Regions from separate parts of the Homo sapiens genome. Here all the other regions are linked to region 1. Evidence: promoter capture Hi-C in 16 types of primary human blood cells and fetal thymus (Javierre and others, 2016). All regions are on one chromosome and are shown on one strand. The core of a region is centred on a gene start or on the middle of the fragment in contact, and the rest is flanking DNA. Distances in the headings are between cores, read along the strand shown. Region 1 holds the start of RTN4RL2 (reticulon 4 receptor like 2). Region 2 overlaps CTNND1 (catenin delta 1). Region 3 overlaps CTNND1 (catenin delta 1).

Region 1 (3,383 bases), core at 288-2,787:
ACCCCCAGGGCCCTGAGCTCAAAGCACCCCCCATCTGGCCCACCAGCCACTCCCTGAGAGAAGAAATGTGGCAGGCAGGCGCTTTGGGAATGGAGGGCTTCCCACGTGGAAGTGGTTACCAGAAGCCTCTTTGTCTCATCCCTGGGCAGCACCCCCAATCCCCAGTCCCTCTCTCTCAGCCTTTCTCTTCCTCCTCCTCTTCCCTCCTCTCCAGCCCCTCTCCCATCCATGGTTCCCTGTCTCCAACCCTCTTCGCCGGTTCCTGATACCCCTTCTCTAGTCACCATCCCCATCCTTCTCTGGTTTCTGATCTTTCCATTCTCCTTTTCCATTCCAGTCCCCAGGGTCCCAGTCCTGATTCTCTTTCCCGCTACCTCCATCCCAGGATTCTGGGTCCCTGTCCATAGTCTTCTTCCCATCCCTCCCCTGATCTGGTCTTTCCTCTCCTTCCCTCTTCCTTGGTCTTCACCTGGGTCCCACTTCCCTCCACGCTTTTCCCATCTAACCTTTATTCCTTCTCCCCCTCCCCCGCTCCATCTCCCTCCTCCTTTGAGCTTCCCTCACCACTTTCTCCATCTTTGAGTTCTCCTTCCTATCCCTCTCCCCCTGACCCCTCCCCACCCCACCCCCAGTCTCTGGCCCACACCCTTATCTGTCACTCAATCAGTAGAACTATCCTCTTTCTAGCGCCCTCCATCTCTCCTACCAGAGAGGGCCACTTGGATTTCCCTCTGCGCCTCCTACCTCCCCAGACAGCCCCCTACCCACATCTCCTGTCTTCCCAGGTGGCCAGAAAGTGCTGAGGCACCGGGCAGGAGGAGTTGCTGAGTCGGCGCTTCCCCAGCCGGCCCGAGTCCTCAGCGTCCCCCGGAGCAGGTGGAGCGGGGACAGCGGAACCTGAGCCTCCCTCCCCGCTCCGGGCCGGGTCCACCTGCCCCCTGCGTCCCACCTCGGTCACGAGCTCCTCGCACGCGCCCGCGGGCTCCCAGCCAAGTGCCCTCCTGCTGAGAACAGCCCTGGCGGCGGGGGCGCGGCCCCAGCGCTGAGCTTTTCCCCTTCCCCAGGTTACCCCACCTCCCCAACTGCCCCACCCTCAATCCCTGAAAGAGGGGACGCCCTGCTTCTCTCCCCAGGATGCCCTCCGCTCTCCCGCCGCTGGCGTTCTTACCTTGCAGCAGGCGCCTGAGCCCGGGCAGCATCTTGTCTCGATGCTCGGGGGAGGGGGCAGCGGGGGGAGGGCGCTCCCACTCGCTCCCTGAGCCCGCCGGATGCACGGCGGGGACCCCGCGGGGCTCCGGGAGGGCCCGGGAGTCCCCGGGCTGCGTGGCCGGGCCGCGGCGCTCTACCCTGCGCCGCCCGGGCTGCGGGCCTCGGGAGGAGCCATCGGCCCCGACGGGACGGGGCGGGGCGCGACGGGGCGGGGAAGGCTGGGGCTGGCCGTCGACGCCCAGCGCCCGCGCCCCGCTAGCTGCGCTGTCCGCTCGAGAGTCCGTCAGTCCGTCTGTCCGTGTGCCCAGGCTGCTAGCCGAGGGAGAGTGGGGACAGCGAGGAAGCTCTTCCCAACCACCCCCACTCCTTCCCGCACTCGCTGGCTCCTCCCTCGTTTGCTGGCTTGCCGACTTAACCCTTTCTCGACCACTAGGAGGCGGGAGCGGCTTTCTAACCCCCTCCACCCCGCCCCCCTCCCCCCCGCTTAAGCGACCCGGAGGACTGTGTTCGATCGTCCTCGCGGCGCCACTCTTCTAGAGAAATCCCTTCTTGGGGGAATGCGGTAGTTTAGAGGAACGCCGTGGACTTGTCCTGTTCCCCCCTCCCAACTTTCCAGGAGAAGATGAGCTTCTGGGTCACCCCCTCCCCCGCCCCCAGCCGCGTCCCTCGCGCCAGTGTCCCAGCCTCCAGCATTTCTGTCCCCTGGGACAGCTCCAAGATTCCACTTTTCCTTCCACTCCCAGACCTCAAGCCCAGTGTGCGACTATAAGAATAGTATATGCAAGAGTTTGTGCGTGCAAGATCGAGTGCATATGAGCGTGCACGTGCGCGCAAGGATGCTTGTGCAGGTGTGACTCAGGATGCTTGCCCGTTACCCTTTGTACGGGCTTGGGGAAGCGGGGGGGGGGGCACGTGAGTGTGCACACGGGTGAGCCGCTGAAAGTCCGCCAGCGTGCATGTCTGAGCTGGTGGGAAACGTGAGGCTGTGCGAGGTTTTGCGCTTGCGATCTTGGGGATGGGTGGAAAGAAATATGTGCCCGGTGTGTGTATGCCCCTTAGTGCATTTACAAGCGGGTGCGAGATGGGCGCGCGTGCGAGTGTGTGCGTTTTTTTGTGTATGTATGATGTGTCCGGGAGGGGAGACCTTATCTCCCGCGGGGGTGCAGGAGAGGACCCAAAGCTGGGGAGAAGACTGTTGGCTTCGCGTGAACTTCCTCTACCCCCTTTTAAAGAGGGGCGGATTATGGTCTCACTGGAGCCCCTCTGGCCCTTCATGGCCTGGTCACAGGCGGTATCAGCAGACCCATCACCTAGGCACTTCCCTACAAAGGCTGCAGGGCGGTTGACCCAGGTCTTGACTCGGCCCGGCGCGTCCGCGGAGCCGCCCCGGCGTAGGATAGGCTCGGGGCCCTCGGGGGAGCCGCTTCGGGTACGGTGGCCAGGCAGCGCTGGCGGGGTTGGGGCTGCTGGAGCCTCAGGTGCGGCGGTGCCGGGGCTGCTGAGCCCCCTGGGCTGCCGCTCCCGCGAGCACAGAAGCCCCTCGCCCCGCTGCCCGCGCCGCGGCTCCTCCTTTCCTATCCGTGCCAGGGTCCAATGCAGTGCCTGGCATACAGTCGGCTCTTGATAAATGTTGGTCTTATTCTTCCCATTCATTCTCTGCTCCCTCCACGGTCTCTCGTTCTTCTCGCGTTCTCATTCGATTTCTCTGGTTTTCTCCCCCGACTCTTACTCATATTTCGTGGTCTCTGTCTCTCTGTTCCCTCCCTCCCTCACTCTCTCTCGGACCTTTTCTGTCTCTACTCGTCTGTTTCCCTGCCCGGTCTTCTGTCTTTCTCACTGTCTCTCTGTGTCTTCGTCTCTCTCCTCCTCCCCGCGGGGCTCCCTGCGTCTCTGTCTCTCGTCTCTGTGTGTCTCGGTGTCTCTGCCTCCCTTTCTCTCCCCCTCTTCCCCAGTTTCATTCCCAGGCTCCCGGCCCGTGGGCACCTCGGCTCTCGGGTGCCCCCTGCTGGTTCCATTTTCGGACCTTCTCGGCCCCCCAGCTCCTCTCTGTGCCCCTAAATTTCCTTTCCCGCCCCTCTCGTTTTCGGATCAGGTAGAAACAGAAAGAAAAGTCTCTGGGGCTCCCGTCTTCCCTCACCCAGGGCTCCCCCTATTTCCAGGAGGCAGGACAGGAC
Region 2 (3,383 bases), core at 572-3,071, 350 kb before region 1:
TGTTGCCCAGGCTGGAATGCAGTAGCACAATCACAGCTCACTGCAGCCTTGACCACCTGGGCTCAAGTGATCTCCCTGCCTCAGCCTCCCAAAGTAATTGGGACTACAGGAATGTGCCACCATGCCTGGCTAATTTTTTTGTACAGACATGGTCTCATTATGTTGCTCAGGCTGGTCTCAAACTCCTGGGCTCAAATGATCCTCCTGCCTCAGTCTCCCAAAGTACTGAGATTATAAGCATGAGACACTACACTCAGCCTAGAAAAGTCTTTTCAGTATTGGGAAGTTACCAGGCTCACAGTGGCAAATAAAAGTTTTTCAAAACTACAATTTCCACTTGAAAGCTCAGGCAGCAAACACTGTGTTATTTTCCTCAAAGCAACAAGCTTATCGCATTCGTTTTTGAGAAAATGTCTGCCAAATGCGCACATCTGAATAATCCCTTTGTCTACCACACATTTTTTTCCAAGTAAAAACAGTGTTCCATTAAACAAAGTGGCTAGTGTGGCTGAGCGCCGGATGTAATCCTAACACTTGGCCAAGGCAGGAGGATCGCTTGACCCCAGGAGTTCAAGACCAGCCTGGGTAACATAGGGAGACCCCATCTCAAAATAAATAAATAAACAATTAAAAAGTGGCTAGTCTAACTAGTAACTGAAACAATAACACAAGTACATTTCCTTAAGACAACCATCATGCTTTAATATGCTATTTCATCAGCACAGAATATTAAAAAGATGTATACTCAAGGGTAGAAAAACAATAAAAGTGATTTTTTTTTTCTTTTGATACGGAGTCTCAACTCTGTCGCCCTGGCTGGAATGCAGTGGTGCAATCTCGGCTCACTGCAACCTCCGCCTCCTGGGTTCAAGCGATTCTCCTGCCTCAGCCTCCTGAGTAGCTGGGAATACAGGCGTCTGCCACCACACCCAGCTAATTTTTGTATTTTTAGTAGAGACGGGGTTTCACCATGTTGGCCAGGCTGATCTTGAACTCCTGACCTCAGGTGATCTGCCCGCCTCAGCCTCCCAAAGTGCTAGGATTACAGGCATGAGCTACCACACCTGGCCTGATGTTTTTTCTTCTCCAGTTAAGTGAAAATGGCTCTCTGCTTTTACCTATGTGAGTGGCAATGAAGACTACAATGACTCATTCAGCTTTATGTCACTGCCCTGGTTTGTGCTAAGCCACCAGCAAGAAGCATCACTGCTTTCTGTGCCATCAGTACAAATTGTAACAATCTTGGGACTCTCAGACCACACTTTAAGAACCAATAATCAAGGAAAAAGCCAAGTGTGATTAAGATAATAATGGTCACAATATACACTTTATGTGAAAAAGAAAAAATTTACAAAACAAAATATATAATTCATCTCAGAGGAAAAATGTGTTTACTCACATGATAAAAATGTTTTAAAAGATACAAGTGGTTTTCTCTGGATAAAAGAAACAAGTGATTTTTTGTTATTTTTCTGATTGTTTATATTTTGTAATTTTAAAATAGTAACTATTACAATATTAAGTATTAAATGGAAATTTAAAAGGAGAAAAAATAGACAAAACAGACTAGAGTTCACTTTCCAGTGTTTTAAGTTCACAAGCAATGATAAAGGAATCACATTCAGGCTAATTACCTGTTTTGTTTTGATTTCTAATGCTTAAGACCTACCCATTTCTGCGTTAGGATCCTGGAGTGGAAAATTATTCCCCTCCCACAAAAGGCTAGCTAATTCAGAAATAATATATATCCTATTTCTTAGTAAGCCACCTAGAACAGCAAGAGTGGCTAAAAGGAGAGGGTGTGCCTTCTGGATACTGCACCTGATTTTTGGTTCCGGTCAATGAGAGGGAGAGTACTATCATCATATGAATGACTGCTCTGGCTTCGGGAAGCATTGTTTAGATTCACCTAGAGGCAAACACAAATGCGACAATGTGACAGAATACTGAATTCACCCTATCTTATGCTCTAATGGGCATAAACCTCTAGGTTCCTATTCCCAAATAGAATCATGAAAAAGCAACTTATAAGAGTTGAATAAATACCCTAGACAGTGAGACAAACTAGGATATTATGGCTTCTATTTGTGTTCCAGAACAGGAGATTACAAAGGATCCAAATATTGACACTATCAGAAGAAAATACAGTTTCAGAGAATAGTAAAAATTCCCTCAAAGGGCTACGGTAGATTTGGGCAAAAGTCAAAAAGGCCATCATCCTTCATCATCACCTGCACCTAAAGTATGTTATGACATAGAGGGATACCTGAGCTGTGTCGGCAACAAATGAATTGTAGACACATCATCCTTTTGAGGAGTAAACCAAATCTTTTTTTTTTTCTTTTTTTTTTGAGACAGGGTTTAGCTATGTTGCCCAGGCTGGAGTGCAGCAGTGTGATGTCGGCTCACTGCAACCTCTACCTCCTGGGCTCAAGCAATCCTCCCACCTCAGCCTCCTGAGTTGCTCGGACTACTGGCAAACAACACCACGCCTGGCTACTTTTATTTTTATTTTTGGTAGAGATGGGTTTCGCCATGTTTCCCAGGCTGGTCTCACACTCCTAGGCTCAGGCAATCCACCTGCCTCAGCCTCCCAAAGTGTTGGAATTACAGGTGTGAGCCACCACACCTGGCCAAATAATTCCTAATTAAGAAATATGGGTCAAAAATAGATTTAACATGAGGCCAGGTGTGATGGCTCATGCCTGTAATCCTAGCACTTTGGGAGGCCGAGGCAGGTTGCCTAAGCTCAGAGTTCAAGATTAACCTGGCCAACATGGTGAAACCTCATCTCTGCTAAAAATATAAAAAATTAGCTGGGCATGGTGGCATGTGCCTGTAGTCCCAGCTACTGGGGAGGCTGAGGCACAAGAATCACTTGAACCCGGGAGGCAGAGGTTGCAGTGAGCCGAGATTGCGCCACTTCACTCTAGCCTGGGCAACAGAGTGAGACTCTGTCTCCGAAAAAGAAAAAAAAAATAGGTTTAGCATGATGGTGAAATGGAAGAAACGAAAGAAAACAGAAGCATTATCCTGGGACCAAGAAAAAAAAAGTAAAAGTCTTGGTCTCAAAAGTTACTATACCTGAAAGTCTGATTTCTTCCATCCTTCTTTTTCCAGTGGCTTCCGCAGTTCCTTATATCCCCAGATTGTCTGTAATACAAGTGCTGCTGCTCGAACTTCTTTTTCTGAGCGGTTCCTTTGGAGGAAAGTAACACCATACGGAATTTGGATATAAAATCAGGAAAAAAGCTTAGACCCTATATCCTCTAATAACATAAGAATATAAATGCCAGGGGCAGGGCACAGTGGCTCCTGCCTGTAATCCCAGCACTTTGGGAGGCTGAGGCAGGTGGATCACCTGAGGTCAGGAGATGGAGACC
Region 3 (3,383 bases), core at 410-2,909, 320 kb before region 1:
TCATGGCCGGGCACCACGGCTCATGCCTGTAATCACAGCACTTTAGGAGGCTGAGATGGGAGGATCACTTGAGTTCAGGAGTTCGAAACCAGCCTGGTCAACATGGTGAAACCCCATCTCTACTTAAAATACAAAAAAATTAGCCGGGCATGTTGGCACACACCTGTAATCCCAGCTATTCAGGAGGCTGAGGCAGGAGAATCACTTGAACTCAAGAGACAAAAGTTTCAGTGTGCCGAGATTGTGCCACTGCACTCCAGCCTGGATGACAGAGTAAGACTCTGTCTCAAAAACAACAACAACAAAACGAGTGTCACAAATTTATGCTCTCCATCTAAAAACAATGACAGGCAAAACTCCATTTCCATGTCGTTCTAGGGAATTTTTTTTTTTTTTTTTTGAGACAGGATCTAGCTCTTGTCGCCCTGGCTAGAGTGCAGTGGTGTGATCACAGCTCACTACAGCATGGACCTCGTGGGCTCAAGCAATCCTCTTGCCTTGGCCTCCCAAAGTGCAGGGATTACTGGCATGAGCCACTGTGCCCAGCCATTCTAGGGAATGCAAAGGGCTTTTTTCAAAAGCACACTGGGCTGGGCAAAGTGGCTCACACCTGTAATCCCAGCACTTTGGGAGGCCAAGGTGGGCAGATCACTTGAGCCCAGGAGTTTAAAGATCAGCCTGGGCAACATGGCAAAACCCCACCTCTACAAAAAAATTACAAAAATTAACTGGGCATGGTGGTGCACACTGTAGTCCCAGCTACTCAGGAGGCTGAGGTGGGAGAATTGCTTGAGTCTAGGAGGTCCAGACCACAGTGAGCCACAATCACTACATTGCCACCTGGGCGACAGAGTAAGACCCTGTCTCAAAAATAAATACGTAAATAAATAAATAAATAGCATACCAAGCCTCCTACTGCAGAATACTAATCAACAAAATATAGCACCTGTAACACTACAGAACTGTATTACATAACATTCAAGCCAGAAAGGGGCCCTTCAGATACCTAAAAGGCATTTATTTGCCTTAACTGGCACCTGACCCCAAATTTGAAGAAATATTCCGGTTCAACCACAAACAAACTTGCCATTTTGTTTCTAAATCAAAGAAATATATTTTGTCAAGATTTTCTATGGCTTTTTTTTTATTTTGAGATGGAGTCTCGCTCTGTCACCCAGGATGGAGTGCAGTGGCGCGATCTCGGCTCACTGCAAGCTCCGCCTCCCGGGTTCACAGCATTCTCCTGCCTCAGCCTCCCCAGTAGCTGGGACCACAGGCGCCCGCCAACACGCCCGGCTAATTTTTTGTATTTTTAGTAGAGACGGGGTTTCACCGTGTTAGCCAGGATGGTCTCGATCTCCTGACCTCGTGATCCACCCGCCGCGGCCTTCCAAAGTGCTGGGATTACAGGCGTGAGCCCGGCCTTTCTATGGCTTCTTATCAGTGCTTATACCAGAGTCCAAAGTCTAAGTACCCCGCCCTACCTCCACTTGATGTTCCACGTTTTTTTTTGTTTGTTTGTTTGTTTTTGAGATGGAGTCTTGCTCTGTCGCCCAGATGCAATGCCGTCATCTCGGCTCACTGCAACCTCCACCTCCCAGGTTCAAGCAATTCTCCTGCTTCAGCCTCCCAAGTAGCTGGGACTATAGGCATGTGCCACTATGCCTGGCTAATTTTTGTATTTTTAGTAGAGACACGGTTTCACCACGTTGGCCAGGCTGGTCTTGAACTCCCGACCTCAAGTGACCCACCAGCCTTGGCCTCCCAAAGTGCTGGGATTACAGGCGTGAGCCACCATGCCCAACCATGTTCCACCTTCATGCTCAGTCAGAACAGTTCTAGTATTTCTCACTTCACTGGGAAGACTCATCTTCTGTTAATTCCAAGTCCCTGAAGCTGATTTGCGTTAAGATTAAAAGGACTGTGCTCACTTCACAATCTCAACTGAGCACTACTCAAGTCACAAAACCTGTATTATTCTGGATATGGCCTTCTCCTAGTGTTCACTCTTTCTATGCTTCCTCATGGATCTGCTTCCTGCTAGGCCCAACTTCTCCATTTAGAAGTGTTAAATCAAGTTTAGCCTAGGCAAGTTTATGCCTCCTTACATCTTTTAAGTTTGGCCTAAAGATTTATCTGTACATAATGAACTATAACCTAAATGGTGGTAGAAATAGACTGTAACCTACTCTTGTGCCAATCACTGAGTTTTGGCCACTCAAAGGGGGCCAACTGTTCCAGCTGAGCCATAACCAATCCAGCTGTTTCTGTACCTCACTTCCATTTTTTGTTCATCACTTTCCTTTTTCTGTCCATAAATCTTCTACCACGTCTGCACTGGAGTCTCTGAGCCTACTGTGGCTCAGAAGGCTCCCCAATTAGTGAACTGTTCTTTGTTCAATTAAACACTGTTAAATTTAATTTAGTTAAGGATTTTATTTTAAAAGAGGGTAAAAGGCTGACCAAAGAAGTCTTATTTTCATGAGGAAAAACTAGGTGTCCACCAGGAATCTCTCTGATGAATTAAGGAAGGCTCTGGGCAGACCACCCTCCTCTTAGGAAAGAGTGATACATTCTCTCTGATTGGAACGTCAGAGAAAAGAATTTTTTAAAAAACAAAGATATAAACAAGATAATACTCCTTGTTAAAAGGAATTTGAGCTGGCAACCTCTATACATCAACAGGGTACCTTAAACTCCCTTTAGTCTTATAATCCTTACCCAAAGCTACCTGTCAATATTTAAAGTTTTTACTGCAACTTAAAAAAAAAAAAATCACCTCCACCATCATGACCTCCTAAATTCTGAGACCAAATAAAACATTCTTCTTTTTCTCTCTTTTCCCCTCCCAAGTATTCTGAGAACCCCCTCTAAACCATAACATACTAAAATGGCTTAGTGCTGGGCTGGCTTTGAAGCCAAGGAAGGGTGTGGCTCTCAGCTAGTGAGGGGGCCCAGGACTGAAAGGGTACAGAAAGAAAAAAACCTGCTTCTCTGTGGAGCATGCATGACGCACACACAGGACTGGTCTAACAAGTCCTGATCTCTCAGGCCAGGCCGCCTCCTTCTCCTCCCCCATTATCCATGTGCCTCTCCAAGGCCCTCCACTGGGACAGTTCACACTGAGTTTTCTCTAATCCTGAGAAGAGACTGAGTTACTTACCTGGATCCCTGTGCAACCTTGCCAAAGACACCTCACCTAGCCTTAAAAGGAGAAAGCAGGGCTTTAGGGAGAGGCCGATAAGGAAACAAAGATAAGAGGGAGGGGCAAAAAAACAGAGGAAGGTGTTAGACTAAAGGAAGGGGAGAGGCCAAATGCCTTTCTCCTTCCTACAAGAGGAGAGAGATCAGGTACACTATGAAAAATAAGAAAAAGCCTCATT

The links. The method cuts DNA at HindIII sites, captures the fragments that hold promoters and counts their contacts. A CHiCAGO score of 5 or more calls a contact.
Region 2: a contact is called between a fragment that was not itself captured here and the fragment with the promoter of RTN4RL2 in region 1, in 1 of 17 cell types (neutrophils). The highest score is 5.4, in neutrophils.
Region 3: a contact is called between a fragment that was not itself captured here and the fragment with the promoter of RTN4RL2 in region 1, in 3 of 17 cell types (activated CD4 T cells, M0 macrophages and neutrophils). The highest score is 7.6, in activated CD4 T cells.

Annotation. Positions count from the first base shown.
Region 1 is chr11:57,458,682-57,462,064 of GRCh38, reverse strand. RTN4RL2 (reticulon 4 receptor like 2) reads right to left here and starts at 1,537. Exons shown (of 3, transcript NM_178570.3): 1 at 1,169-1,537. The coding sequence starts at 1,199. RefSeq lists silencers at 1,261-1,530, 2,630-2,689. The HindIII fragment of the contact is 14,932 bases long and covers 1-3,383 here.
Region 2 is chr11:57,809,925-57,813,307 of GRCh38, reverse strand. CTNND1 (catenin delta 1) reads right to left here. Exons shown (of 21, transcript NM_001085458.2): 16 at 3,085-3,199; 17 at 1,822-1,909. It overlaps TMX2-CTNND1 (TMX2-CTNND1 readthrough (NMD candidate)), which reads right to left. Exons shown (of 21, transcript NR_037646.1): 17 at 3,085-3,199; 18 at 1,822-1,909. Among named protein-coding and RNA genes, the nearest start is that of CTNND1, 50 kb to the right of the region's middle. The HindIII fragment of the contact is 2,866 bases long and covers 389-3,254 here.
Region 3 is chr11:57,781,427-57,784,809 of GRCh38, reverse strand. All of the region lies in intron 1 of CTNND1 (catenin delta 1), which reads right to left. All of the region lies in intron 2 of TMX2-CTNND1 (TMX2-CTNND1 readthrough (NMD candidate)), which reads right to left. Among named protein-coding and RNA genes, the nearest start is that of CTNND1, 21 kb to the right of the region's middle. RefSeq lists an enhancer at 54-554. The HindIII fragment of the contact is 3,687 bases long and covers 1-3,383 here.